Linked DNA regions of Homo sapiens: regions 2, 3 and 4 are each linked to region 1. The links are contacts of gene promoters, found by promoter capture Hi-C in blood cells and fetal thymus (Javierre and others, 2016). All regions are on one chromosome and are shown on one strand. Each heading gives the region's core, a stretch centred on a gene start or on the middle of the fragment in contact. The rest is flanking DNA. Distances are from core to core; before and after follow the strand shown.

Region 1 (7,422 bases), core at 1-2,500:
ACCTAAGTCACTTTAACACAGAGATACAGCTTCAATTTACAAGCAGCCAGTTGCAAAGCTTCAGAAAAGGTTTTCAAAAAAACAGGACAATGGGTCCACTCTGCAGTCTAGGCCTGATGTTGACCCTTTTTCACAGTCCTGCTTTGTTTTGAGGCTATTAAAACCCTGCTTCATTTAAGTTCCATCTAAACTTTACACTTCCTCAAAATCCTGTAACTTTATATTTTCCTTCCCCTGGTAAAATGTCCCATGGTGTCTCTGGTGTGCAATCTCCCTCATTAAAAAAGATCGATAGACCTGGTTTTGCTGACTACAGGTTTGTCCCTGGTGGTCTTAGGCTGACTGGGCTTGAACAGTCTTGCTCAGCTTCAGGGTTCCTAAGATTGCAAATTTCAAAAACTGATACAACAAACATTTTTTCACTCCTAAATACAAATGCACCTGTCCACGTTGCCAGGTAGTTATGCACATGGCTACCATGTCAATTTGGTCATAACTAGGGTTAGGTCACTTCTCTGGAAGGTTAGTTATTAAGAACAAGAAAGAAAGTCAGGGTTCTGCACAGCTTTTGGTTTGATTCTTGTACTGACTTATGTTTCTTTTTCTTTGGGGCTACAGGTAAATATTTTGTCTGCTAAACTGACGCCCCCATCGCCAGTGTCTGAACAAACAAAACTGAGACATATCTAGTCAGCTGAAGCTGACAAATACAGGGGCCAATCTGGTTACAGGCAGGCAGTCCTGGCCTCGTGACACCGCAGAGACTGTGGGACAAGTGGACGTGCTCCTACTGTCCCTCGCATCCCCCATCTGGGCCGCGGGACTAGTGCCCTCAGGTCTATGACCCACTGCAAGAACCCAAAGCTCGACGCCCGCCCAGCCCTTCACATCCGTCCCTTGCAACAAGCAAGAGAAGAGGGGCGCGGCTTCAGGGGACGGGCGACGGTTTACAGGACAGCTCGTACACAGTACCAGCTGACATCCCCTAAGCCTGAGTGTCTAGGCCCCTGCCTCCACATTTAAGAGCCGACTGCGCCCCTTGGTGATTGGACGTCCGGACGCACCTTGAGTAGAGGCCAAGCAAACTATCGAGCCCGTCCAAAACGCCATATTTGTAACTGACGTCATCCTCATGTTGCCTTTCCTCTCTGTGATTGAGGAACCAATCAGTTGGGTGTAGCAGACGGGGCGTGGCTCTTCAGGTAGAGGCCGAAGGGGCTGAGAGCGGTCCCAGGCGGCCATCTTGATTCCTGGCATCACTCTCAACGTGCCCTCCCTCTCCGTGATTGGACGAGCAGGGCGGGCCTTCCGGAGGCACACAGCCGACCAACCAGAGATCTGCGCGTGCTCGATCTGGTCATCTGTTTTCTGACATCTGGAGCCACTAGCAGTTATCCTGTTCATTCCTGGGCGCCTGCGACCTTCCGAAGGAAACAAGACTTGCTTGGGGAAAGTTGCCTTGCCAGTATAGTGGAGCTTGGTAGAAACTTAAAAACTGCCTGGGGCTGCCTGGGATGGGGATCTCGAGATGCTTGTGGGGAGCACATTTTAGGAAACAGGGGGCTCAAGCTGCATGAAATGCTGCGGGAAATAGGAATGAGAGACGCAGAATGGTCGGAGAAAAAAGCTAGGAAGGTGTTTGGGAGTAAGATTTTGGAGTGCCTTGAATGCCAGACTAGGGAGTTTGGACTATATCCTGTAAGATAGGGGATAAAAATCAACTTTAAACAGGAGTGATATAACAAGATAATGTACTTTAGAAAATAATTCTGTAACTGTAGGGGGAGTCCCAAAGTGTTTCTCAAATTGTGTTCGGGGAAGTTCAAAGTGTGTTTGAGAGCTTGTTTTTATATGCAGATTCTTGCCCCTCACCAGACCTGCAAATAAAGTTCTCTGGTTGTACAGCCAGGAAACTGCATTAAAAAAAAACTTTTTAGGTTAACATACATTTGGTGAGAAAACGCATAAACCATATGGATAGGGCTCTGAATTTTCACAAGCAAACACTTCAGCCAGGCGGGGTGGCCCGTGCCCCTAATCCCAGCTACTCGGGAGGCTTAGGCAGGAGAATGGCTTGAGGCCAGGAGTACCAGATCAGCCTGGGCAACATAGCAAGACCCGTCTCTAAAAAAATTTAAAACAAAAATAATAACACACTCCCGTAGTTAACACCAGATGAAGAAACAACATGGCCAGCAGCTCAGAAGCTCCCCTTTTCCCCTTTAGCCACTGCTGCCTGCACCAAAGGTAAATATGATCATTACTTATAAGAACTGTAGATTAGTTTTGCCTGTTTTGAATTTGATATAAATAAAAGCATACAGGATATATTGTGTCAGCTTATTTGTTAGTGTTATTTATGAAATTCATCCGCATTGTTCCATGTAGTTGCTGTAGACTCCGTTGCTATAGATTGTTATCACAATTTATCCAGTCTCTTGTTTATGGGCCTTTGGGTAATTTCCAGTTTGGAGATAGTAGCAAAAAAAATGCTAAAATGAACATTCTTCTTCATTCATATCTTTTGCTTTGTAAATTATAAAGCAAGACAACAAGACCTAAAGACTGATTCATTCACTACCTATTTATTGAGCCCCTTACCAGACTAAGGTGAGAAAATAAAACAGAAAAGACAGCAAAGGTCCTGCCCTCATGGAACTTATTCTAACTGGAACGAAACAACACCTACGTGGGCAGCAAAACAAGTCAAACAATTGCAATTGTGATAACTCTGAGGGAAACAAGGTGAGCTAGAAAAAGAAGGGTGGGGACTTAACCTTTTTTTATGTGGTAGCCTGGTTAACTCTCAGAAAAATATCTAGGAAAAAATACAAGAGATAAGTTGGCACTGCTACACGATGAGTATTAACAATGGGTAGACCATTCCTGGCAAGAGAGACACCATGTATAAAGGTCATGGAGGAGGAGAGAGCTTGGCCCATTCAAGACCAGTGTGGCTTCAACACAATGAAGGAGGGATGGCATAAGGTGTATCTGGGTATTAAAGCATATGATACAAGGCCAGAGTAAGAAGTTGAGATTTTATTCCAAATATTATGAAAAGCAATCGAACTGTTAAAAACAGGAAATAATGTGATCTGATTTACTTACTTAAAAGATCCCTCTAACTGCTGAGCAGAGAACAGATTAAAGACAGAATTTAGGAGGCTGCTAGAGCAGTCTCAGGGAAGATATGCTGGCATAGAGCTTAGAGGAAAGGCTTGAAATACATCTGGGAACTGTCATGGCAAAGATCATCACCTTAATCAAGTGATAAAAGGTAACACCTCTCTGCACTGGCCTGGGTAAAAATCTAAAGAATAAAATACCACCACAATATTGGGAACCCATGTGTGGTGGTGTATTCCTGTAGTCCCAACTATTCTGGAGGCTGAAGCAGAACTGCTTGAGCCCATGAGTTCAAGGCTGTAGCAGGCTACAATCAGACCTGTGAATAGCTACTGCACTCCAGCCTGGGCAACACAGCCAGACCCCATCTCTTCGAAAAAATGTATATGTGTGTGGCCAAGCACAGTGGCTCACGTTTGTAATCCTAGCACTTCTGGGAGGCTGAGGCAAGTGAATCACAAGGTCAGGAGTTCAAGACTAGCCTGGCCAAAATGGTGAAACCCTGTCTCTACTTAAAACACAAAAATTAGCCGGGCGTGGTGGCAGGCACCTGTAATCCCAGGTACTTGGGAGGATGAGGCAGAGAACTGCTTGAACCCGGGAGGCAGAGAACTGCTTGAACCTGGGAGGCAGAGGTGGCAGTGAGCCGAGATCGCACCACTGCACTCCAGCCTGGGTGACAGAGGGAGAGTCCATCTCAAAAAAAGAAAGAAAAAAAAAAGTGTTTGTGTGTGCGTATATATATAGAGAGAGAGAGAGTGAAGAGAGAGAGAATGTATTCTGATGTGATGCACCAAGGACATAGCATTTCTACCAAAAATTCACTATCTGAATCCAATGAGGAAAACTCCAACAAACCCATGTTACAAATTTAACAGTTAAATCTAAAACTATCAGTTAAAGACTAGAGACCTGATAAATAATTGCAATTTGTAATCCTCCATTAGATCAAGAGCCTGGAAAAACAATTTTTTTTCCCATTTGCTCCAAGGAACATAGGAGCAACAACTTATAAATTTGAATAAGGACTGAAGGTTAGATAATAGTACTATTGCAATATCAATTTCCTGATTTTGATAAGTGTACTGATGACATAAGAGAATCTCTCTGTTGTTAGGAAATACACATTTTAAGAACGTATAGATAGGCTGGGCATGGTGGCTCACGCCGGTAATCCCAACACTTTGGAAGGCCGAGACGAGAGGATCGTCTTCACTCAGAAGTTAGAGGCTGCAGGGAACCATGATCGCGCCACTGCACTCCAGCCTGAGCGACTGAGGGAGACCCTGTCTCTATAAAAGAATGTAACGCCAGGCACGGCGGCTCACGCCTGTAATCCCAGCACTTTAGGAAGCTGAGGGAGGCAGATCACGAGGTCAGGAGTTCGAGACCAGCCTGGCCAACATAGTGAAACCCTGTCTCTACTAAAAATGCAAAAAAATTAGCCGGCCATGGTGGCGCGCGCCTGTAGTCCCGGCTACTTGGGAGGCTGAGGCTGGAGAATCACTTGAACCCGGGAGGCGGAGGTTGCGGTGAGCCAAGCCCCCGCCACTGCACTCCAACCTGGGCAACAGACCGAGACTCCGTCTTTAAAAAAAAAAAAATGTAGCGATAGAAGGACATCATGTCGGCAATTTCCTTTCAAATGATATAGCACATGCAAAACGTTAACATTTGTGGAATCTAGAAGGGTTTGTGGGAATTATTTGTACTAGTTTAGCAATATTTCTGTAACTGTGAATTACTTGAAAATGAAAGGTTAACAAAGTTACTGAGATTAGGAGAGAACGTGAGGAGCGAACAGACCTAGCCATGAATAACCAACAAATAAAACTCGAGGAAATAAAAAGGAACTCAAATGGCATGCGACCAACGGAAGACATAGCTTCTGTACTCTTAACCCTAAATTACTAAGCGATGACCCTCCTGCAGCTTTCTAATCCAAATCACCAAAAACAATCTCGCCGCCCAACTTTGCCAAAAAGCAACTTAACGCCAGCCGACTCCGCCATGTTTTCCCAGTGAGCTTGCGAGCGCGTGCGTACGCACGCACGCACGCACGCACCAACCAATCGGTGCTCACGTCGGTGACTCGTTACCGCAGGGGCGGTGCGTTCTTCTACACATGCGCAGGGTTGGGCGGGTCTTCTTCCTTCTCGCCTAACGCCGCCAACATGGTGAGTCTTACTGTTGCGGGCTCCGGGGCCGTCGACCATGCCGCTCGACCTCCACCTCCGCTGGGAAGCTGAGGCGCCAAACGGCTCCCAGAGGGTCCCGGGAAGCGCATGGTGAGGGTCCCCGGGCCGGCTGTGCAGCGGAATCGGGCCCTTCCCGGACTCGCGCCCTTCCCGGACTCGCCGCTGGCGAGCGCGTGGAGGGCCCGGCAGGCCTGGCGCGCCTTGGGCCACGCGTGCGCGCCTCCGCCGCTGGAGCTGGATGGCTGATGCGGCTCGTGGTCCGAGAGCCTTGTCCTGCCGTGTGGGCCTTGCGGACCTGGGAGCTGGCGGGCGTTGGGAACCGGGCTTAAGCTACTGAGGCGTTTGCTGATTTCGTCCATCCAGGTTGGCGCCTGGCTCTCGGGCGTTTGTTCCCTGCAGCATTCTTTTTCGCTGAATTTAACCATGTTGTCTTTAGCTGCAGAAGGTGACATATGTAGCGAGTATTTCTAAGTAAGTTTCACTGTCCTTTCTCCTCCAATTTTAGGTGTTCAGGCGCTTCGTGGAGGTTGGCCGGGTGGCCTATGTCTCCTTTGGACCTCATGCCGGAAAATTGGTCGCGATTGTAGATGTTATTGATCAGAACAGGGTAAGTGTCACAACTTTTTACTAAACATGGCAGTGGACATGTGCCCTGCAGATGGCAATAATGAATTGTCTCGATGGCTGTGTAAGATGAGGATGCTATGGGTAGTCGCTTTATTTTACCATTGAGGAAACAGGTAATGGTACGGGTTTTAAGCACAGCCTGAAGTTAGCTATTAGTATTGAATTTCAGTATTAGCCACTTAAGCTAGAGCCAGTTATAGGCTGAAACGTTGGTTAGTTTTAAATGAGTTACTATACGTAAAGTGAGTTTAGAACAGATCCAGCACGTAGAAAGCACTTTTGTATTTACTGCTGTGTATTTGAAACAAGCAAACTAAGGAGTTGACCACTGACTATAAATCAGCAGGGATCAGAGTCCTAAAGTTGCCTGTAAATTACATGTGGTTGGTTTCTATGGGGTACTATATAGTTTAAGAAGGAGCATTTAATGATGTGGAGAAATGTTTGTGTTGAGCAAAAGACATACATATATATAACCCAGATAGGACAATCCTTGTCTTTTCTGAGCAATTTATTAAAATAGTAGTGTGGGTTTGATGGCCCTGAACGGATAAGTAATGTTACAGAACCATCTGACCATTTTAATTGCTGTTAGATTTTGCACTGAAGTTCTTGATGTTTGTGTTCTAGGCTTTGGTCGATGGACCTTGCACTCAAGTGAGGAGACAGGCCATGCCTTTCAAGTGCATGCAGCTCACTGATTTCATCCTCAAGTTTCCGCACAGGTAACTGTCCACTAATCACTCCTCCCTCCCATCCCCAGATTTGTTTATGCTAGTAAAAGTTTGTTTTGGAGTAAACAATACGGAAGATTCAGAGCCATCCTGAAGAGGGATTTGCATCATAGAAGTAGACAGGGATTATTTACTTTTAAAATGTCTTGCCTGCGCGTGATAGCTCATGCCTGTAATCCCAGTACTTTGGGAGGCCACGGTGGGAGGGTCTCTTGAGCCCAAGTTTCAAGACCAGCATGGGCAACATGGCGAAAACCCCCATCTCTACAAAAAATAAAAAAAAAATTCGTTGGGCATGGTGGCACGCGCCTGTAATCCCAGGTAGGGGGGCCTTGGGGGTGCTGAGTTGGGAGGATCGTTTTAGCGAGGTCGAGGCTGCAGAGAGCCGTGATCATGCCACTGCACTCCAGCCTGGATGACAGAGTGAGACCCTGTCTCAAAAATAAATAAATAAAATAAATGCCTTGAGGTCACTTTTCTATCCTGGTAGTTTAGGGCTTTGCCTTTGTTTAGATTTGCCATCTTCTTTTCTTCTGGTTTCTGCCAAATTTTTAGCTTAAAGTAAACAACAATACTAAGTCTTGTGTTTATTGCTACTAGCTATCATTAGATAAGCTCTCAGTGTGTGTCAGTTACACAGTATTTAATATAAGAGGTTTTATCCCTAGCTTACATTTAAGTGAGGCAGTGAATAGCAGTTCTTTTTTGACATGAAAATTAAAACACTTTAGTGT
Region 2 (7,422 bases), core at 1,282-3,781, 2.2 Mb after region 1:
GCTTTAATTAGTATCTTTTGGCCTTTTTATGCTTTTGTTATTTGATTAGCTTAAATTTTTCTTTTCTGAGTGTTCAGTCAAGTTATCTGTACTGACCAGAAGAGGAATTTCATCTTTTGCTTTCTATTTATTACTTGAACATTACTTTAAAGTGACTTATAATTGGAGACTGACAAATTTGTGTTTTCTTCAAACAGATGAAAACTTTATTCTCAAACATGACAGAGCGTTCCTTTTATCAATGGCAAATCGAGGGAAACATACCAATGGTTCCCAGTTTTTCATGTGAGTAGGCATAATTCAGAGATGAGCTTTTCTTAAACAGAGAAGCGCTGTTCATAAGAAAGATGGTATAGTTAAACCAAGTTTAATGCTAAAATTCTGTCAGCTTTATTTTTATTATTAATTTCTAATATCATAGTAACTTATAAGGTCTAACAACTGCCTCAGCATTCAGCATATATCCTGAATTGGAAGAATGGGACTTAAAAAATTTAAAACTTATACATTGTTTTCAAAATATGCCGTCATCTTCAGAAAAGATGACGGCATATTTAAGCCCCTGTCAAATTCGAGTGCTGACTTTACCAAAACTAGATTGGAACATAAACTATTGATGAACATGTAAAAATTGTTCATAGACGAGTATTCAGTTACTGTACCCCCTCAACAGGGAAAGCAGTTTGAGTAAACCATTGCATGGTTGTTTTTTCCTCTTACTGTTGCTCTTTGAGGCAATTTTGAGAGAGGTACTATTATTTTCTGATGTTGTATAGAGATAGGTGACCTGCTGTTGAGCGAGCATTTTAAAAAACTCATTTTATGAGGTCTCCATGCATAATTGAAATAACCCAATGTTGCTGTCATTTCCACCAAAATTTATGAGATTGTCACTCAGGAAACTTAAGAATACTAAATTTGCTTTTGAAAAAGCAAATATATTTACATGGATGTGCATTGCACAACCAAAAACTTACCTTTTTATTATCTGAAAATTCTAAATAAATCCTTTGGCATACTTTTAGTTATATTCTTATCTAAGGCTGCTTCAAAACCTATTTTTATCATAATTCTATCATATAAAATGTGAAAGATAACTGTCCAGCATGAGGGTTATTGCTTTTGATTGGAAGTGAATCTCAGTTGTCCTATGTATGTTGGAGAAATATTTCATTAATAATTTATTGAAAACATTTTCTTTGTCATCTTTCTGAATGAATGAGTATGAATGGCGCTTCCCTGTCTTTAAAGGAGTATATTACTGACATACAAAACTCAAATGTTAAATTTGTCTGAAAAATATATTTCTACATGATCTGATAAAGTTCAGATAAGGGGCATTCTGTTCCTAAGAATGTCCTAAAAATGGAAAGCTGATAAAAGATTATGCTTAGAATTATACAGGTAAAAGACCTACAACAGTTGTTCTCTTGTTTTGATCCCATAGGTTATTTGTTATTACTCTTCTTTAACAGAGTGATTTTCTATTCTTAACCTTCTTAAGAGCCAATACAGAGTAGAAAGAAATATTTTCAGAAAGCCTTTTTAATAGTAACTTAATGTAAAAATTGTTTATCCTTTGGTTGAGGTTTCCCATTTCCATTTTTAAGCTTATCTGAACTGTGAACATGAAAAACGTAATGATTCATTGGTCAAGAAGCTACCATTTGAGGGCTCTAAAGTTTCTTTTAGATTTCCTTTTTTATATCAGTACAATTAAAATTTGATTTATCAAGTAGCAGCAGCTTCTTGATATTGTTACATACATTAGCTTGTTCATAAAATGTTAGAGTTAAAACTCATTAAAAATGCTATCGTTAAACATAAACTAATTAAAATTCAGTATACGAGATTCTCCCTTCAAAAACATCTTATTTTTATTTTATTTAGTACTTGCTTCAGTGTTTTCTAGGAATATCTAGTAAAGGCCTTTACTGTTTTCCACATGGCCTAATTTTATATTGGACTACAATTTTTGAGAAGGAATGCCAAATACAAAATTTTGAATCAATAAATTACAATTATAATTTTTATACTTATTTTCAAAGTTAATTTACTTTAGATGGCAGTAAAATCACTGAACTTCTGATTGAAAGAAAATTTTTTAGTTTGAAATTTCCTTCTGGAAAGGGGTTTGCAGTCCCTTTGGAAAGGAGTAAGCAATCCTGGAAGTAATTGAGTATTTAATCCTCCTATATTTTTTCTGAAGATTTTTGTGTCAGTATACTTTCTTTATGCTGGCTAGAAAGATCAGTTCTCAAGAGTTGCAGGATAAAATCAAATTAACTTTCATGTTTCAGAACTAAAACATATCCTTGCATTTATGGGAAGGATAGGTAAAAATGGAGATGGTGGCTGATAAAATAAAAATCTTTGAAACTATGTTTTTACAAGCCCAAAGCCTTTTGGAGTTGAAAGTATTAAAAAAAAGTATGATATGCTATCTTCAGGTTATGTATATGATCACAGATAATAGCTCTGATGGTCACAGAGCTTGCTGATGGCTTCCAAAGGATGGCTCCTGCCTTTTACCTTGTTACCACAGCTCCTCATAGGGCACTTTGAGTGGCAGTTCTGGAATCTGAAAAAGAAAGGATAGTGTAAGAATGGTGGTAAAATAAAAAGAACTGTCTTTATAGTTCCTGCTTTATAGGCTCAATAAGGATTTTTAATACATCCTTGCAAAATTGTTTTTGTAGTTTTTGTTACAAATCTGTTACTTTGCAATTCCTAAGGAGTAGATTTGGTGCTGTTAGTATGGGTATTTGCAAGACATCCCTCAAGGATTCTTATGTTTTGTGCATTAACTACTGTCTTCATTACTTACACATCTAAAAACTCCCCCTTCCTTAGGCATATGTCATTTTTATTCAACATAATTTTGCATATATTGCTTTCTTTGGCTGGAACAATTATATACATGATGAAAATCAGATTTTCTTCTATAAATCTATTTGTAATTTTTACAGTAACTTTATTTCTAGTACTGTATTTGTCATAATGATTTTGCTCTCGGGGGTCTATATAGAAGAAAACTTGATTCTTTTTGGAATAGTACTGCTCAAGAAATGTGGAAGAAGTGATATATGGCACTATACCCATGAATCACTAAAGAAACAGTGGTTTTATTTTGAACATTTTTGAAGAAATTCAAAGATTTGGGACTAAAGTTACCAAGTTAATTTGGTATTTATTTTGTCCTTTGTATTCTTATTTTTTAGGTTAAAGAATAGGAAGAAACCACAATAAAAGCTGGAATTATAAAGTCATAGAGTGGAAAGGGATTTAGAGATTATCTAGTCCAACCTTTTCATTCTGTAGATTATGCTAAATTCTTGAAAAGTCATGTAAAGTCCAGGTTATAGAAATTTTATTTACAATCTGGAAGAAACTGATAGCTAGAAAAAGAATGCTGCATACTTATTCATATTATTAATGCCTTTACTATAAATTTAAGCTTATTTAAGCTCAAAATTTTATTAACCACTCTGCTCTGAATTTATTTTAGTTAAGGATTAGAAGCATCAAACATTTTGCTGGAAAACAAAATGACATTTGGGGAAACATTCTTTCCCCTTTTGCTGTTACTGATAGCTTATTAATTCTGGCTGTAATTTTTTTGTCTTTATATACATTAATCAAAAAGACAAAGATGTTGTATAAAATAGTCATGAAAAAGATTGAGTAAATAGTTTATAGCTTTGTAGTAACTTCTGGGATAGGACACTAATATAGCTGTCAGGAAACCTTGATTTTAGTTTCCTATGTACCTTCAGTTCGTTTTTCTTAAACATTGGTATAAAAATATGGATGTAAAAGGAAGAAGGTATTTTGTAGGGTAGTTGTAAGTTCCTGAATGTGTGGAATGATTTATGTGCAAACATTGTCTTGCCTAATGGAAATAGTCATAATTGCCTAGTTTTCATTAGTCTGAAAAATGTCTTAAAGAAGTATTGGGCTCATCTTAAATCAAGAGCAACAGAAGTCTCTTCATCAGCTGCTGTTAGAACATGAGTCTGCGCAGCCATAGAGTAGGGATCTGCAGACCCTGCAAGAACAGTTCCTGTCACTGGCCACTGTCAGTGGTCATTAATAATTATAACAATGTAAGAAAACAAGATAATATAGAAGAGTCAAACTTTGAACTTTAAACAAAACATGTTTGCTACATTTTAACAGTCATAAATAGGGCAATGGGGGGGCGGGGCATAAGTTTTAGAATATGTTTTATGTCATTTAAGAATCTGACTTGCAAGTACCTGAATGGGAGAGAAGTGCTGATTATTACAAAGTAGTGGAGCAAGGAGAGTTGAGGAGTAGTTGGTTTTAAGGGGTTTGTAAAGCTGTGTTGATGTTTTGGGTAATAAAACTAGATTCGGGGTAGAAATGCTTTTTCTACCCACGTATTCATAAATTTATGTAAGAAGAAATGCTAGTAAGTGTTAATAACCTGAGAAGCTCTAGCTTTTTCCTTCCTTTTTTTGGGGTAATACCTTCATATGTTAATTTCAGATTTTTTCATGAGCAAAGATGTTCGTGAAACTTAGCCATAAACCATATTCTCTGAATATCAAGTGTCATCCCTAACATTCAGGCTTAATAACTTAATGTTTATGTGACTTACGTGCTAGCAATGTGGAAGAAATTTTTTATCTAGTAATGTTTGGTGTGTATTATCTTAACATTAGTGCTGAATTTTAGAAAGCACTTCTATTTTGGTGACTTTTGGAACACATGGGTAGAGCATTGTCAAGTGGCTTGGTTAGTTTCCATTACCCTTATACAAGTGTTGTCATTCTGTACAATTTGGTGCCTCTTCCCTGACAGTGTGATAGTTTCAGGAGTTGAAGGGAAAGCATTGCATGTTAAAAGCTAAAGTGGACAGAAGTTATCTTTATTTCCCTCTTCTGTACTACTTTACACCTACAGTCACTTATTTTTTTTTTTTGCAACATTCATTGAAAACTCCACATTATTTCAAACATTATGTTCTTTTTTGACTTATTCATGTTGTCAATGCCTTTATGATAATTTTAAGCTTATTTTTAAATATTTCAAGATTTATTACATTCAAAACTCTTATAAAGCATTTTGTTCATGGTATAATAGTATTTTGATCTGAGTAGTAATAGATTTATTTGTTTAAATATAGATAAAAATTGGTCAGTGTGTGTTCTCCAAAAAAAAATCTTGATAATGGGGAAAATCAGAGATTAGACAGGAAAAGAAGATATTGTGGCTAAGATTTGACTGCACTTACGCTTTCATCTCTCTTGCCTTTTTATTCTCTGAGAAGGTCCCTAAAATTGTAGTTAATGCTGCTTTATTATTATGTTCAGTGACTTAACTTCAATGTGTATCTAATATCACTGAACAGTAACTAGGGTCCGAACATTTGCTCATTAACTCCTGAAAGTAGTCTGTTGTGATACGTCACCAAACAAAGGTTTCAAATGTAGAAGCATGAAAGGTTCTTTAATTATTTGATGTGAATTAGTTAAAAGTTCCTTGAAATTTTATTTTGGATGATCTTAACTCACTTTTTTCTAATGAAATTTTTGCTTTCAACTGGTAGTAACTGGTCCTGGGCATTCAGATTTTTATATTTATGTATGTATGCAAGATACACTATTCTCTTTTGAGAAAATGTTGTCTTAGCTAATTTCTGGGATTTGTGAAAGGAAATGTAATATGTTAATAGCTATTATTGGCACTCTATGTTACAATATTAAGGATCTAAATAGATTCCCACTTAGCCACGATGCTTTTCTTAAGCATAATTCATCTCTACGTAAATATCCCATATGAAAGAAAATTTAGAGCCCTCCATTTAAAAAAGCTTTCTTGCTCTGCATAAAACTTGAAAATAATTAATTTCAAAGTTATATTGATATTAAAACATAGATTCAGTCTTGTCTTAAAAGTGTATTACAATTTATTTCTTGCCATTTTTGTGTAAAATTTACAGAAAGAGTGTTACACCGTGCGCTCCAAAGGTAATGTCTCATTACTCTAAGGCTCTCTCTCTCTTTGCCTTTATCTCTTTAATTCTGTTGTTATGTGCATTGAAACATTTTAAGAAAAAAAAAAACTTTCTGCTTTATCTGTATAGCAGCAGTACATGTAAAACAAGTGCATTTTATTTTTCATGGTTAATCCTGGGAACTATATTTTAACTTCAGTGGCTTGTTTCCACCAAGTTCCTGTACATCTTCTGGTGGGGGAGTGGGGTTATTAGTTTATAGTATGGTTTTAGTTCTCATTTCAGTGTGGAATTAGTCATTTCTGTATAAGGGCAAAAGGTTCTCTGATAATGGTATAAAACTATAGATTGTTTTTGGAGTAGCAGTGACACTTGTCAATTTCTAAGATTTATAAGGCTTAAATACCTTGCACACATGTTTTTTAAAGTAGATTCAGGGGTCGGGAAAACTGAAAAATCACTGTCTTTAAGTACAAGAGAAAAATGGAAATGCATAAATATTGAAAGGTTTTACAATTTGAAATGTTCTTTGTGGTTTTTTCTTTTTTAGGTATGTTTTCATAAGCATATATAAATTTAAACATTTTTGATAGCCTCTGGCCTTAACTTACTGAGCATGTGTCACCATTGCACAGCTCTTTAAACAGCCGCTTTTAAGATCAATGCAATTTTTCTTTTAATTGAAGATTTTGAAAGATTAAGAGTTAGTGAGATGAGCTCTCTGCCTCTTTTAGTAGAATTGAATAGTCTGGATTGTGGATATTATTTCTCTCCGCCCTTTTGTAACCCTCTTTGGCTAATGTCCTCTGTTCATCCACGTATTAGCCAAGTGCCAGTAACCCTGCTTTACATTGGGATTTCTACTCCTGGAATGTAGGTTGAGAACCCCAGAGGGCTTCTTTTTGTTAAATACTTTTAGTATTCTTAATATGTAATCTAATCCAATTAAAGTGCAGACTTATATTTCTGTATCTTGAGTTGCAGATGCAAGTAATGGACTTTAATCATTCATATCAGGTTTAGGCACTATGGGCAGGCTGAGTTGTCCTTGAAATAGTCATTCGTGTCTTCATTTGTTTTCTGCACTACTGCTATAAAGGACCAAGTTTGCCTATTCTTGGCAGTTTTCATTTGAATTAAAAACTAAACTTGAATGTCATAAAGATAGCTATTCCATCCTCAAATTGAGTCTCAAGTAGTATGTTGCTGCATCGCTACACTACTCTGGAATGTTTTATTCCACCATTTTCTCCAAAGGTTTGCCATAAAGTGGTTTTTACAGCCTTTCTATCAGCCAAGATGGCAAATTGAATTGGGCTCTTTATGTTTTAAGAAAAATTTGCAGGCTTTCCCCAATACTGCAGGATCTGTGAGTCATGGGAGGAACGGATCAAAGAAGGAGAAGGAATGTATCTAATCAGGAAACCATACATCGTTTT
Region 3 (7,422 bases), core at 2,138-4,637, 2.1 Mb after region 1:
TAATCCCAGCACTTTGGGAGGCCAACGCGGGCAGATCACAAGGTCAGGAGATCGAGACCAGCCTGACCAACATGGTGAAACCCTGTCTCTACTAAAAATACAAAAAAATTAGCCAGGTGTGGTGGCGTGTGCCTGTAGTCTCAGCTACACTGGAGGCTGAGGCAGGGGAATCGCTTGATCTCAGGAGGCAGAGGTTGCAGTGAGCCAAGATCGTGCCACTGCACTCCAACCTGGGCGACGGAGCGAGACTTTGTCTCAAAAAAAAAAAAAAAAAGGTGACATAGGTGCAGAAACAGGTCAGAAATGATCTAAGTCAAGCTTGTCCAACCCGCCACCCAGGGGCCACATGTGGCCCAGGACAACTTTGGGTGCAGCCCAACACAAACTCATAAACTTTCAAGAAATATGAGATTTTGTTGCAATTTTAAGCTCATTGGCTATTGTTAGTGTTAGTGTATTTTATGTATGGCTGAAGACAATTATTCTTCCAATGTGGCCCAGGTAAACCAAAAGATTGGACACCCAATCTAAGTGAGCCCAATTTCCAAATTTACTATAAAACTACATTAATTAAAACAGTGTGCCACTTCACATCCATTAGGATGGCAATAAAGAAAACCAAAAAATAACAAGTGTTGGTGATGATGTGGAAAAATTGGAAACTTTGTGCACTGCTGATGGAAATGTAAAATAGTGCAGCTATGGAAAACAGTATGGTAATTCCTGGAAAAATCTTAAATGGAATTAGCTTATGATCCAGTGATTCCATTTCTGGGCATATATCCAAAATAATTGAAAGCAGGTTTCAAAGAGGTATTTGTACACCCACATTCATAACAGTACTATTTACAACAGCCAAAAGGTAGAAGCAATCTAAATATCCACTGACATATGAATGGATAGACAAAATATGATATACACATACAATGGAATATTATTCAGCCTCAAAAAAGGAAATTCTGACATGCTACAACATGGATGAAATGGAAGACATGCTGAGTGAAATCACCCAGCTACAAAAGAACAAATTTTTTTTTTTTTTTTTTTGAGACAGAGTCTCGCACTGTCACCCAGGCTGGAGTGCAGTGGCGCAATCTCGGCTCACTGCAATCTCTGCCTCCCGGGTTCAAGTGATTCTCCTGCGTCAGCCTCCTGAGTAGCTGGGATTACAGGTGCCTGCCACCACGCCCTGCTAATTTTTTGTATTTTTAGTAGAGACGGCGTTTCATCATGTTGGCCAGGCTGGTCTCGAACTCCTGACCTCATGTGATCCACCCGCCTCAGCCTCCCAGAGTGCAGGGATTACAGGTGTGAGCCACCGCACCTAGCCTACAAGAACAAATATTACATGATTTTACTCACATATGAGTAGACAAATACTAGAGTAGACAAATTTACAGAGAGAAAGTAGAAGGGTGGCTGCCAGGAACTTGGGAAAAGAGGGAAATGGGGAGTTACTGTTTAATAATACAGAGTTTCAGTTTTGCAAGATGGAAAATGTTCTGTGGACGGATGGGAGGTACTGAGGGTTGTACAACCGTGTGAAATACAGTTAATGCCAGCGAACTGTACACTTAAAAATGGTTAAAATGGCAACTTTCACATAATGTGTATATATATCTATAGATCTATAGATATCTAGATATCTGTAGATCTATAGATCTATAGATAGATTTTTTTTGTTTGAGACGGAGTCTCGCTCTGTCACCCAGGCTGGAATGCAGTGGACCGATCTCGGCTCACTGCAAGCTCTGCCTCCCAGGTTCACGCCATTCTTCTGCCTCAGCCTCCCGAGTAGCTGGGACTACGGGCGACCGCCACCACGCCCGGCTAATTTTTTGTATTTTTAGTAGAGAAAGGGTTTCACCGTGTTAGCCAGGATGGTCTCGATCTCCTGACCTCGTGATCCGCCTGCCTCGGCCTCCCAAAGTGCTGGGATTACAGGCATGAGCCACCACGCCCGCCCATGTAATGTGTATTTTATAGTTTAAAAAAAAAACTTATAAAATAGTGTGGTACTCAGACACAGATCATTGGAACAAAAATCCAGAAACAGACCCACACATATATGGTCACAAGGCGAAGGTAATTCAATGTATAAGAGTCTTTTCAGGCCGGGCGCGGTGGCTCACGCCTGTAATCCCAGCACTTTGGGAGGCCGAGGCGGGCGGATCACGAGGTCAGGAGATCGAGACCATCCCGGCTAAAACGGTGAAACCCCGTCTCTACTAAAAATACAAAAAATTAGCCGGGCGTAGTGGCGGGCGCCTGTAGTCCCAGCTACTTGGGAGGCTGAGGCAGGAGAATGGCGTGAACCCGGGAGGCGGAGCTTGCAGTGAGCCGAGATCCCGCCACTGCACTCCAGCCTGGGCGACAGAGCGAGACTCCGTCTCAAAAAAAAAAAAAAGAGTCTTTTCAACAAACGGTAATGGAACGACTGTATATCCCAATAGGAAAATGTTGACACTTACTTGACAACATAAGCAAAAATTAATGATATTAGATCATATCATAGACTTACACGTTAAAGACTATGTAAAACATATATGAGAACACAGAATATCTTCAAGAACTTGAGGTAGGCAGAGATTTCCTAGCACAGGAAAAGCACAAACCATTAAAATATAAAACTGACCAATTGACTTAATCAGAATTAAAAACTTCTTTGCCAAAAACGTCAAAACAATGAAACGACAGGCCCAGATTGGGAAAAAGACTTCGCAATCATTTATGTAACAAAAGATTTTCATTCAGAGCATACATATATCTAACAAAACATTTGTATCCAGAACTGTTAAACACGAAGGACCAGATTTAAAAACGGGCAGAAGACTGGAACTGAAACTTCACAAAAGATGCAGAATGGTCAGTAAGCACAGGACAAAAACGGTGCCAGTGACGCTGGTGCCAAAGCGGGAAGGAACGCATTCTTCAGCCTAAAAGACCTAACAGTAGGACACGGACATAACCACTCCCGGCCAAAAAGAACACAGAGCAACACAACGTCTTGGCTAACGAAAACTCAAAGCCTCAATTCACTCAGTTCCTTCACAGCGCTCGGAAACAGAGAAGTCTCGCGGTATCGGAAAATGCGCGGCGCTCACAGCCACACCTGACGAGATGGAGGGCGCAGGCGCATCCACGGCTTTCAGATTGGGCGACTGACTTCAAAGGGGGGGGCAAACAGGGAACGCGCAGGTATAGGAGCGCTGGCTGGAGGCTCCTCGAGAGCTCCCCAGACACGCCCCCGTGCGTACGCCCCCGTGCGTACGCCCCCGCTGCCGCCACCTTCGGTTGACCACCCCCATCTAGACTGTACTCTCGCGGTATTTGTCCCGACTCTCGCGGGGTTTAGCGTGGCATTGGGAGGCCCGGCCTGGGGGAGGAGACGGCGTTCCGTTAGCGGCGTTGGGGTTTGGCTGCAGTGGCAGTGCTTTCTCTTCTGCTCACGGGGACCCGCTCAGGCTGGAGGCCAGCCAGGTGAAGAGCTCGCCCGCATGCGTGCGCGCTGCGTGGGAGCCGCGAGGCCCGGGGCGGGAGGGGGCCTCGTCTTGGCCTCCTGCGCTGTCGCGACGGGCCGGCGTGAGGCACCGTGGCGCGGACTTCGTCTCAGCCCCGCCCTCGCCCCTGCCCTCGCCCCCGCCCTCGCCCCTGCCCTGACCGCTTTTCTCCCCCTCTCTCCCAGCTCTTGCCGCCACCTCGGTCGCGATGGGGGCGCAGGACCGGCCGCAGTGCCACTTCGACATCGAGATCAACCGGGAGCCGGGTGAGCTGGAAACTGGGGAGCGCTGCTGGGGCCGAGGCCTGCCTTGGCGAAGGGGAGGGGTCTACCCTCAGCAACCCTCCCCCGGCCTTTTTGGGAGCGGGTAGGAGGCGCAGGCAACTTTCCGTTTTCTCTTGAGAGAAAATCAGTGGGAGAGGAAGGTGGCCTGGGCACACCCCTAACTCGCAGTCCGGGCCTCTTCCTGCCAAACCCCACACACCCCGCTGCATCTCCGGACTGAGTCCTCGTAGCCAGCCTGGCGCCAAGAAAAGGAGGTGCAGTTCTTTGAGGACTTTTTCTCTCCCAGTGTCTCCGTGAGGCAGACACTCCCGATCCGATTTCCGGTTATCTTGCTTGGTGCTATGAAGTTTCAACTAGTAGGAAATATTGTGTGTTTCCTAATCACGATATATCACTAATATGTTAATTTTGCCTCTATTTTTCCTTAAGAATCTTTAGCTAGAATTTCGTGGTTCCTGGGAAAATGGCTTAGTGAAGATCTTTTGTGATAAACCAGAGCATTTTGTACCAGCAGAATTGCAGCATGCATGCACTTAGCATTAATGTTTGTCTTTAGGGAATCCAGACATTTGTTAGTGTATTTTTTTTAAATGAAACATTTCCTTCTAAAGCATAGTTATTTCATTCTAAGTAGCAGAGCGTGCAGGGTTTCAAACTGTTTTCTTAGCTTTTTTTGTTATCCGTGACAAAAGTTTTAATTGGAGACATATATATATGTGTTGTCTTTGTGCAACATCTTGTTCTGCATATTCTTATGAGAGCCTGCTACTGTTCTAGGGTCTGGAGATAGAGCAGCGCATAAAACAAAGGCCTCTTCCTTTTATAGTTTATATTCTATTGGGGGGAAGACGGACAACTAGGAAAAAAATAACAGTGACTTGTAGTTGGGATACTATTTTAATAAGTTGGTCAGACAAGGCCATTTTGAGAAGATGAGATTTAAGCAGGTATCAGAAGGAGATGAAGTGAGCCGTATTTAAGAAGAGCATTCGTGGTAGAGGGAAACAGCACAGCCCTGAGGTGAGGAGTAGTATACAGTCAGGCGCCAAATGACATTTCTATCTTTAACAATGGTCTTATATATAATACCTTTTTTTGGTAACTTTTTAATGTTTAGCTGTGTTTAGATATACAAATACTTCATTGTGTTAAAGTTGCCTACGGTATTCAGTGGAGTAACATCCTGTACAGGTTTGTAGCCTAGGAGCAAATAGACTATATAGCTTAGGTGTGTAGTAGGCCGTACCATCTAGGTGTGTTTAAATACATTCCATGATGTTCACACAATGACGAAATTGCCTAATTACACATTTCTCAGAATCCGTCCTGGTTATTAAACAATGGAGGACTGTACTTGCATGTTTGAGGGACAGCAGGGTGCCCAGTGTGGCTGGAGTAGAAGAGGAAAGAGAATAGTAAGAAATGGCCTGTAGGACTGACTCAGTGAGGTAGGAAGATATTAAAGGGTTTCGAGCAAAGGGATGAGATAATCCTGGAAATTTGGTTGCCTTCTCTCTCTTTTTAATGTTTTTAGCCTTGATTGATCTTTTTTTTTTTTTTTTTTAAATAAGTGTTACTAGAAAGCCTTGATGGACCTTAATCTTTATTTTGTAGTGAATCCATGCTTTAGATAACAGGGTTATTTTCTATTAAGAATTAAAAATAGCTCACGCCTGTAATCCCAGCACTTTGGGAGGCAGACGCGGGTGTATCATTTTGAGGTCAGGAGTTCGAGACCAGCCTGGCCTACATGGCGAAACCCCATCTCTACAAAAAATAAAAAAATTAGCTGGGCATGGTGGCTCTCTTAGTTTTTGCCTGTAGTCCCAGCTATTTGGGAGGCTGAGACTGAAGGACTGCTTGAGCCTGGGAAGCAGAGGTTGCAGTGAGTAGAGATTATACCACTGCATGTCAGCCTGGGTGACGGAGTGAGACCCTGTCTCAAAAAAAAAAAAAAAGAAAAGAAAAGAAAAATAGTAGATTGCTGAAGAGTAGAAGTATGACCAAGCATGGTGGCTCATACCAGTAATCCCAGTACTTAGGGAGGCCCAGGCAGGAGGATTGCTTGAACCCAGGAGTTTGAGACCAGCCTGGGCAATATAGCAAGACCCTGTCTACAAAAAACAATTTTTTTTTAATTAGCCAGGCATGGTGGTGCTCACCTGTACTTGGAAGGGTGAGGTGGGAGGATGGCTTGAGCTCAGGAGTTTAAGGCTGCCATGAGCTATGATTGCACCACTGCACTCCAGCTTGGTCAACAGAGCAAGATCTTGTTTCTAAAAAAAAAAAAAAAAAAAAAAAAACAGCTTAAGAAAAAGTACAAATAAAAATTTCTGTAGTTAAGTACTCCTTTCCTAGTAAATGTTCAGATCCTAGATTTGCACATAACCTGTGTTGTGAAAAATCTCCAGAATATGTTTGACAAATGTTCAATGAACCTCATTCCTCAACATCCAAGGCAATTCATTGTGATAGATGTGTAGATGTGATTAGCACTCTTGAGAACGCCGAATCATATAAAACAAGGAAATGCAATGCTTACATTGTTCTAGGTTTAATCATTTGATAGTTGGAAATTTCATATGGTTCAGTCTTGTGAAATAACTAGCACTTTTTGAGTATATTAACTAAATAGTGGATTTTACACAACTTTTTTTTTTTTTTTTTTTTTGAGGCGAAGTCTCACTTTTTCACCCAGGCTGGAGTGCAGTGGTGCCATCTCGGCTCAGTGCAACCTCCGCCTCCCAGGTTCAAGCGATTCTCCTGCCTCAGCCTCCCTAGTAGCTGGGATTACAGGCATGTGCCACCACCCCTGGCTAATTTTTTTGTATTTTTATTAGAGACAGGGTTTCATCATGTTGGCCAGGCTGGTCTGAACTCCTGACCTCAAGTGATCCGCCCACCTCGGCCTCCGAAAGTGCTAGAATTACAGGTGTGAGCCACGGTGCCTAGCCTGTGGTTTTTATTAAAGAAATTGGTGCATTTTATCTAAGTTGTCAAGTTTATGTGCTTAGAGTTGTTTGTCACAGCCTCTTTTAATATCTGTGGGGTCTGTAGTGGTGTCTCTTTTCATTCCTGATATTGATAATTCTTCCTTTTGTCTTTTTCCTTTGTCAGTCTGACGAGAGGTTTATTCATTATACATTTTCAGAGAACCAGATTTTGATCTGATTGAATTTTGTTTCTATTTTTGTTTTCAATTTCATTGTTCTCTTTCTTTCTAATGCTTGCTTCAATTTTTATTTTGTTCTTTTTCTAGTTTCTTAATGTTGAAGCATAGATTGTTGATTTGATACCTTTTTTTTTTGAGACAGTCTCAAATGACTTTTAATTTAATTCCATTATGGCTAGAGAACACACATGATTTCCGTTCTTTGTGCACTTGAATGTACATTCTGCACTTGAATGTACATTTTTGTGTAGTGTGTTCTATAAATGTCAAATCCAGTTGGCTATTAGTGTTGGTCAATTCTTTTATATCTTTGCTGATTTTCTACTTGTTTATTGATTACCAGGAGAAGAGTATTGAAGTCTGCAACTATAACAACTGTAATTGTGGATTTATCTATTTCTCTCCTTTTTTTTTTTTTTTTTTTTTTTTTTTTTTTTTTTTTTTGAGACTGAGTCTTGCTCTGTCG
Region 4 (7,422 bases), core at 1,331-3,830, 2.1 Mb after region 1:
GAGACAGCCCAAATCTGTCTCCTCCCTCCAATGCCTACCCTCCCCCTGTCTTTCCACATCTTATTCGTTTAGTGCCCAACTCTATCTCCTCCTCCAGACAGCCTTCCCTGATTGCTCCAGCCAACTCAACCCTTCCCCCTCTAACCCCACCCTTCAGCCCTACCCACCTCCCAGGCTGGGCTATTCTGGCCATCCTATAAGGTCAGGGGCTGGGGTCTCTTACATCCCCATGTTTCTTACAGCCCAGTGCAGGGGCTGGGTCCACAGAGAGAGGAGAAGGGACTCAACCAGGACTGGGTGAGGGCAGGCTGGAGTGAGGGGTCCCTATTTCCCTCCCTGATTCTCCCTCCTCCCCACCAGCTACCAATCGCTCCCTCATGGAATGGGGCAAACCTGCTCTAGCCGGACTCGGTGTGACGGCGGGGTGGGGGGGCGGGGTGACAGGAGTTATCAGAGTCATAAAATGGCAGCTGCAAAGTTCAAGTTGAAGGCCCAAGGCCTTATCACTCCTGTTTATGGTGCCCTGACTTCAGCCTGGGAAGGAGAAATCTCTGAAAAGGGAGGCAAAAAAAAAAAAAAAAAAAAAAAAGGAAAGAAAACCTCCAGTGTCTCAGAGGAGGAAGTCTGCCCCAAGGCCACCTGTCAAGCCTTCCACTGCCCCTGCCCCCCGGACAGCAGGCACAGGGACTCCTCATCCAGAAGCAGAGCTGCTCAGGGCAATGCCCAGTACGAGGCTGGGGGAGGAGGGTCACAGGCCTCCTCGTGGGAAATTCTCTATCTGGTGTGGGAGACCAGACCCAGTGACTTAGGAGAAAGAGTCCAGGTGGATGTGGGGTACAGCCTCCTAGAACTGGGGCAGGGGTTGCTGAGAGGAACAGTCAGGGGAGGCTCCTGGAAGAAGCAGGACTGTGCCCTAAAGAGTTTGACCAGATGGGCCAATCTTTCACCCTAAACCATAAAACAGCCTCTGTTGACAGGACCAATGGGCCTGCCCCCAGAAGGAGGAGTCCCAGGGACTGGGAGAGGCTCGACTTCTCCCCAACTCTGAGGTTGATCAGTGGCCACAAGCTCCTGAAGGCCTTGCCTTGCCACCGGCATCCTGCTGCCCCTGCCACCTGCCTCTAGCCTCTCCAGAGGCGGACCACAGCTGCCCAGGCCCTCTTGGCCCCCAGCAGGCCACCCTGTGAGCTTTGGGAAACATGGCTGCATCTGGGTCAGGCCTCCTCCTCAAGTGAGGTTACCACCTCAGTTAGGCCTGGCCAGGGCTCCCAGGGTACCATGCTGGAAAAGCGAGCCCTTTTGGAAGTTTCTACCCTCCTGTCCTGGTGCACTAAGACTATGCCTTCTCTGAGGTTTGTGGGACATCCTTGGGGAGCCCAGGCTGGAAACAGGAGAGCTGGTCCTCACTCCACTCCATGGCAATGGCTTGACCTTGGGAACATCTTTAACTTTTGTGGAAGGGCCTCGGGTTCCTCACCACAAAAGGGAAGGTGAGAGGCCTCCGCCCAGTGTGCAGGAGAAGTGGGAGGAGAGGGTTAGGCTGGAGCCAACTCTGCCTCCTGAGTGGGACATAATCTACCCCTGGAGCACCAGGGTCTCTGTGAAAGGGGGTTTGTCTTTCAAGCAGGACTTCTGTGAGCTTTGAAGGAGGTAAAGGTTGTGAAGGTGGCTATGTGAACTGTGTGACTGTCATCCCTTCTCCTACGTCCCCAGCTTGGGAGCCCTGTGCAAACTTATACAGCTATTTCTGGCCCCCATCTTCCCACAGGTTCCCAGGGCAGCAGGAGTCCTGGGGAATGGGGGACGTTTCCTCATTAGGTGGCCAAAACATTTTGGGGGTAAGGCTCCAGGCCTAGGTAGGCAATGGGGCCTCTCAGAGCAGATGGGCCTTCACAACGTGGGCAGCCTCAGTGGAAATCCAACATGGGCCATGAGACCAGGGTAGGGGCTCTAACCTGCCACGTGCCACAACTCTGCCATTGCTGGGCCCTTCACTGTGGCTCCTTTGGCCATGGAGCAGGGAATGGGGCCTGGGGACTATGTAAAGCCTAGTCCCTTTCTTAAATCCTTCTGTTCAACCCCCAGATTCTGCCTTCCCCTCTCTGACTTCTTAACACAAAATGATTTTTATTGTACCCATTGAAAATGTCAGTATGTACTCTCTCACATAACTTAGAAGTATTTCCTTTTTTTCTTTTTTTTCTTTTTGAGATGGAGTCTTGCTCTGTCACCCAGGCTGGAGTGTGGTGGTGTGATCTTGGCTCACTGCAACCTCCAGCTTCCAGGTTTAAGCGATTCTTCTGGCTCAGCCTCCCTAGGAGCTGAGATTACAGGCTCCCGCCACCATGCCTGGCTAAATTTTGTATTTTTAGTAGAGACAGGGTTTCGCCATGTTGGCCAGGCTGCTCTTGAACTCCTGGCTTCAGGTGATCCACCTGCCTCAGCCTCCCAAAGTGCTTGGAATTACAAGCATGAGTCACCACGCCTGGCCCCTTAGAAGTATTTCTGAAGAAGAAAAAAACAGTTTAATCTCTCCACCACGTGTATAGTGTTTTAAATTTTTACTTTTTTTGTGAAAATTTTTAAACAAGCAGAGACAACATTATAATGAACGTGCAAATACCCAATTCCGAGGTTTGACAATTGTTAACATCTAACAATTAATATATGCTTCATTTGCTTTTGGGCTGAAGTATTTTAAAGTAAATTATAAACCTCCTGACCTTTTACCCCAAATCATTTCAGAATGCATCTCTAAAACCAAAGGACACTCTTCTATATAACTATGATACTGTCATTACACACCTAACAAAATTGACAGGAATTGCTTAATATCTAATATTCAAATATCCCCAGCCGGAATGTAATGAAGTGCCACAGGATGAGTGGTGATATTATCCAGGGCTTGGTCTTCTCGCAGGAGTTTCATGTCTGTGTCTGACGGGACTGTCCAGCGAGCTGGCAGGGAGAAAGCAGGGTGCCTTGGCAGTGAGCCTCAGGCTAGCCTCCACTGGGAGGACCCAGTCTTTTCGTGCAGCCCCTCTCATGCGGCCCATTATCTCTCAGGAAGTGCCTCCTACTACCTAACTTCAAAACAAGTTCTTCCTGCACAGCAGGTCACCAGAGGAGGGGGAAGAGGCCACCAACCAATCTCCATGTACTAAGGACTCATAGCCTTGTGGCTGCCTGTGCTGGAGTCCAGCCCTCTGCAGGTGGCTCCAACACCAACGTCACCCACAGGCACTGTGTTTATAAGCTGAGTCCTGCAAACTCCAGTTCCCTAGGTGTGGCCAGGATCGTGAACAAGCAGCAGAGGATTTAAACTAAATGCTTAGCCTGTGTTCCTCTGCAAATAAAGGCTTCATGCCCCCAAAAGAAACCTTCCAAGAAGAACCCTTAGATGGGAACAAGCTAAGTGTCTGTGCTTGGGTTCTGCTAATTATGAGAGCCCTTGTCCTGATATCACTCTGAGATGTGGAAAGTTCTTCTTACCCAAAGCACAATCCTGTATCCTTATGTCTCCCCCTCTTCCTCCCCATCCCCATCAACACTCACACAGCAGTTCTCATTCTCTTCTTCTACCAGAGCTCAGCCTTCCCCAAGAGGAAGTGAGGCTGGCAAAAAAAAAAAAAAAAAAGAATTTGCAGCGGGGAGGCTTTGGGCTGTTGGCTAAGGGATGTAAAAATACAAGGAAGAGAAATCAGTACGGGGCGAAGGTAACTGGCAGACTTGAGACCTCTGGTGGGTACGGCTGGCACTTGTCAGTGGGTAGGACCTTCAGCCTACCTGGGGTTATGCAAGGCACTACGGCTGTGGCTAGGCTTGGATGTGGACAGCAGGGGCAGCCTGGCATGAGGACTGGACTAGAGCTTTGGCAGTCGCTGCTAACCCCCCTGGTGCCTGGCTGGTGTCTTTTACATGTGACCCTCAACCCCAATTCTAGAAGTAGGTGGTATTGTTATTGTCCCCATTTTATAGATGAAGTTGAGTAAATTGCCCAAGTCATCCAGCCAGGAAGCAGCAGACAGTCTCATTCTGGAACCTGTGGTCTGAACTAGGCTCTGCCACCTCGTGAAGAGGGGCTACTACTTCCAGGGTGGGCGACGGCGTGTCACATGCTGCGCTGGGACTTTAGATATTTTTAAAATTAGTAAAATATAGAAATCTGAATTGACAGCTCAGTGAATTGTCACATATGTGTACACCTGTGTCACCACTGCCCAGGTCAAACTATTATACATTCCCATCACCCTAGCAGGCTGCCCTGCAATGAGGGGAAGTCTTATTTTGATTTCCTTTAGTGCTCTCTGCAAAGCTGGGAGCATGTTTCTCCTTTCTTTTGTGACTCCTGGATCCCATGATCCAACTTATGTCCTTTACCCACTCCTTTTCTGCCCTTCCTCCTCCCACCTTTTCTCTCCTCTCTCCCCTCTTGCCTCCCAACTACAAGGGCTGCACGTTCTCGCCCACTCACGTGCAAAAGCCAGCAAGGATGGGAAGGTGAGCTGCTGTCCTGTGTGCCTGTGATCACACTGCTTTCTCTCTGGCTCCTCCATTCCCCCTGTGTCTCTTTTTTACCCCATGATTTCAGCAGGGGGCTGGCAGAGTAGAGTAAATAAGTCGTGAGATATGAGATGGTTTCTGTAAAGGGCTAGGGTCATGTGGGAGAGGGTAAATGAAACCACTCCTGAGCCCCCTGTCCTCTACTCCCCATTCCCCTGCCTCCATTAACAGTTGCAGGCTGGAAAAAAATAAAATAGCCCTCTTGACAAACCTCAGAAGCACAAATCATCCATGGAGGCTCTGCATGCTTGGCAATTTGCAGACAGTTCTTTCTCCTGCCTCACCTTATCCAGCCTGCTGCATTCTGTGCTCCTCTCAGAGACCAGCTTCTCCTCGGAGGGACTCATGCTTCCTGCTGTGCTACTTGGCTCCTCCTGCCCTAGTTCTCTGGCCCCAGATGATGAGGCTGGGGCTTCTGATTCGAGGCAGTAGCTGTGGTCTCAGGCTTCCCTTGAGGGGATTGAACATGGCCTACGAACCTGAGCATGGCCCACCCTGTCTTTCAGAGCCCCTTGCATCTAACAGCTACAACTCCCAGCATCTTCACCCATACCCCCATCACCACACCTAGCCTTTGCTCCAGATCTCAGAGAACCCCACATGGACAGGAAAAAGCAGGGCTTTCTCTCTAGCCCCTCACCAATTCCTATGCTTGACTGAGCTCCAAAAAGTAAGCTTAAAGGCAGCCTGACCCTGCCGTTGAGCTGAGGCTAGAGAGTTTTGGTCCAGGCTGGGCTCTCAGCACCTTCTTTGGGGCAGGAGTTCCTAAGCCCAGAAGGGACCCAGGCTGAAGAAGACTGAAGAAGTCCACAGCATCTTCTCCATCCTGGTCTTCTTCTGTCCTCTGCCATGGGGCTAGCGGGATGTGGGAGGTGAATGACAGGGAGTTGGCAGGAGAATCCTGAGTCTAGTTGGAGACAGGGACTAACCAAGTCTTGTTCATTCCACCTGCCCCCTCCTCTCTGTGCCCTCTCTTTATACCCACTGTCCTGCCCAGGCTTCATCAGTTCCTGCCTGGACTGGTGCAGTAGCTTTCAGCCCCACCACCTGCAACCTGAGGGATCTTTGTAAAATGTGTATCCCCCATCCTCAGTCTCCTGCTTCAAGTCTCTGTTGGCCCCCATGGCCTAGGAGTGAAAGCTCACACTTGAAAACTGGCATTCCAGGCCCTTCCCAATCCTACCCCAGTCTACATCTCTCAACTTGTCTCCTGATGCCCCCAGAACTCCTTGCTGCAGCTACACCAGGCTTCTCACAGCCTTGCATGTATTAGGCATTTTCATGCCTCCATGCCTGTGCACACGCTGCTCTACTTTCTGGGGTGCTCTTACTCCACTTCTAATTGTCTAACTTGCACATCCTCCATGACCTACCTCTACAGAATGAGTACAGCATACCCATTCTGTAGGAAGCCCAGACTCCAGCTATATCCCACCCTGGAACACTTCCCTGACATCAGTAGACTTGGCTATATTCAGCCAGGGAATTTTTCAACTCTCTCTGTGTTCCTGAAGTCCAGAGGGATAATGAGGATGTTTAGAATAGGGAAATAAATAAGTGGGAGAGGAAGTCCAAAGTCTGCCTGAATTCCTTAGTGATAAGGACTAGAGGGAGCTGCCCTGGCCCGGTCCCTCAAAGGGCAATGGTTGACCAGAGGGTCCAAGGCGAGGCTGTGTTGAAGGATTGATGCAGTCCAGACCAGCGGTCAGAGACTTAGGTCCCATCTGGGAATGCGCATTTGCTGGGTGACCTCAGGTCCCTCTTTGGGTCTCCATTTCCTCTACCCCTCCCCAGATAGGGCTCAACACTAAACTAAATTGTGACAAAGAGAGAGCTCATCTTCCAGACCACACCCACTGTTTCATAAACACCACAGGCTTCGGTACCCACCCCTCCTTTCTCTCCAAACTGCCTCTAAGGAAGGGCTGTGTGTCTGTGCTGCTGAGGGGGCAGAGTTGGCTGGAGAAGTTGACCCAACACTCTTCTACCCTCAGAGAGTCGCAAGCAGAAGCTGCCAGAAATCCTAGGCGCCCATGGTGATTGGGAAACAAATATTTCTTGGCAAACTATATGGCCACAGTCCTGGCTTAAGAAGGCCCAGAAAGTGAGGGCGTCCATTATCTTGTCCTCAGAGGGCAAGGCTGGACACTTTTGTTTACAGCGACCAACAGAAAACTCAACTGATCCAAGCCATAAAGGAAAGGCATCAGCTCATGTTGCTAGCAGTAGAGCTGGTTTCAGGCATGGCTGCATTCACAGACCCAGACAATATTAAGAGAACCTGATTTTTCTCCATCTCTCTATTCTGCCTTCAGCTGTATAGTTTTTATCCGTGTGTTCCACTTGTCAACAAGAAGACAGCAGAAGCTTGAGCCCTTGCTTCCTTTAAGGTTTCCAGTCCAGTGGGGAAAAACCAAATTCACTTTCTTAATCACTTAATCCAAAGTCCCAGGAGTGAGCCTCCTGGCTCTGAGTAGCCTGACTCAGGCCATGTGTCAGGCACTGTGGCCAGGAATGCTCTGATGGACTTAAGCCTTGGTCACATGTCAATCCCCTGGAAGAGGGTTCATCAGAACTCCATGAACTAGAGGTAGGGAAGGAGGTTGTTTCCCAGACACAGATGAGGACATGGCACCAGAAGAGAGTAAAGGATGGTGGAAGGCAGAAACAAGAGATATCTGCTACCATCCATCCTGTTTTGACGTTACAGTGTTATGAGAGATAAGAATGGACAGGAGAATCAGGAGACGCTGGGAAGGGGCCAGAAAGCAGAAAGAACCCTGTTGCTGGTGGGAGATGGGGTTGGGATGGTACCTTGGTGAGAAATGTGCTCCAAGACAGGCAAGACAGACCAATGAT

What was found. The method cuts DNA at HindIII sites, captures the fragments that hold promoters and counts their contacts. A CHiCAGO score of 5 or more calls a contact.
Region 2: a contact is called between a fragment that was not itself captured here and the fragment with the promoter of ENTPD3-AS1 in region 1, in 1 of 17 cell types (activated CD4 T cells). The highest score is 5.2, in activated CD4 T cells.
Region 3: the fragment with the promoter of NKTR here is called in contact with the fragment with the promoter of ENTPD3-AS1 in region 1 in 9 of 17 cell types (naive CD8 T cells, fetal thymus, monocytes and 6 more); the score reaches 16.5 in naive CD8 T cells.
Region 4: a fragment that was not itself captured here is called in contact with the fragment with the promoter of ENTPD3-AS1 in region 1 in 1 of 17 cell types (monocytes); the score reaches 7.5 in monocytes.

What each region holds. Positions count from the first base shown.
Region 1 is chr3:40,452,058-40,459,479 of GRCh38, forward strand. It overlaps ENTPD3-AS1 (ENTPD3, EIF1B and MYRIP antisense RNA 1), which reads right to left and starts at 1,251. Exons shown (of 4, transcript NR_040100.1): 1 at 1,065-1,251. It overlaps RPL14 (ribosomal protein L14), which reads left to right and starts at 5,282. Exons shown (of 6, transcript NM_001034996.3): 1 at 5,282-5,417; 2 at 5,833-5,934; 3 at 6,585-6,679. The coding sequence starts at 5,415. RefSeq lists enhancers at 985-1,054, 1,075-1,144, 5,081-5,375 and silencers at 5,518-5,567, 6,781-7,075. The HindIII fragment of the contact is 7,917 bases long and covers 57-7,422 here.
Region 2 is chr3:42,621,232-42,628,653 of GRCh38, forward strand. NKTR (natural killer cell triggering receptor) reads left to right here. Exons shown (of 17, transcript NM_005385.4): 6 at 198-285. ZBTB47-AS1 (ZBTB47 and NKTR antisense RNA 1) reads right to left here. Exons shown (of 3, transcript NR_125400.1): 2 at 2,533-2,581. Among named protein-coding and RNA genes, the nearest start is that of NKTR, 24 kb to the left of the region's middle. The HindIII fragment of the contact is 1,847 bases long and covers 1,609-3,455 here.
Region 3 is chr3:42,597,299-42,604,720 of GRCh38, forward strand. NKTR (natural killer cell triggering receptor) reads left to right here and starts at 3,388. Exons shown (of 17, transcript NM_005385.4): 1 at 3,388-3,480; 2 at 3,686-3,766. The coding sequence starts at 3,709. It also overlaps a transcript of SEC22C not described here. RefSeq lists a silencer at 3,482-3,691. The HindIII fragment of the contact is 13,164 bases long and covers 317-7,422 here.
Region 4 is chr3:42,504,338-42,511,759 of GRCh38, forward strand. All of the region lies in intron 1 of VIPR1 (vasoactive intestinal peptide receptor 1), which reads left to right. Among named protein-coding and RNA genes, the nearest start is that of VIPR1, 5.4 kb to the left of the region's middle. RefSeq lists an enhancer at 3,020-3,314. The HindIII fragment of the contact is 5,312 bases long and covers 1-5,236 here.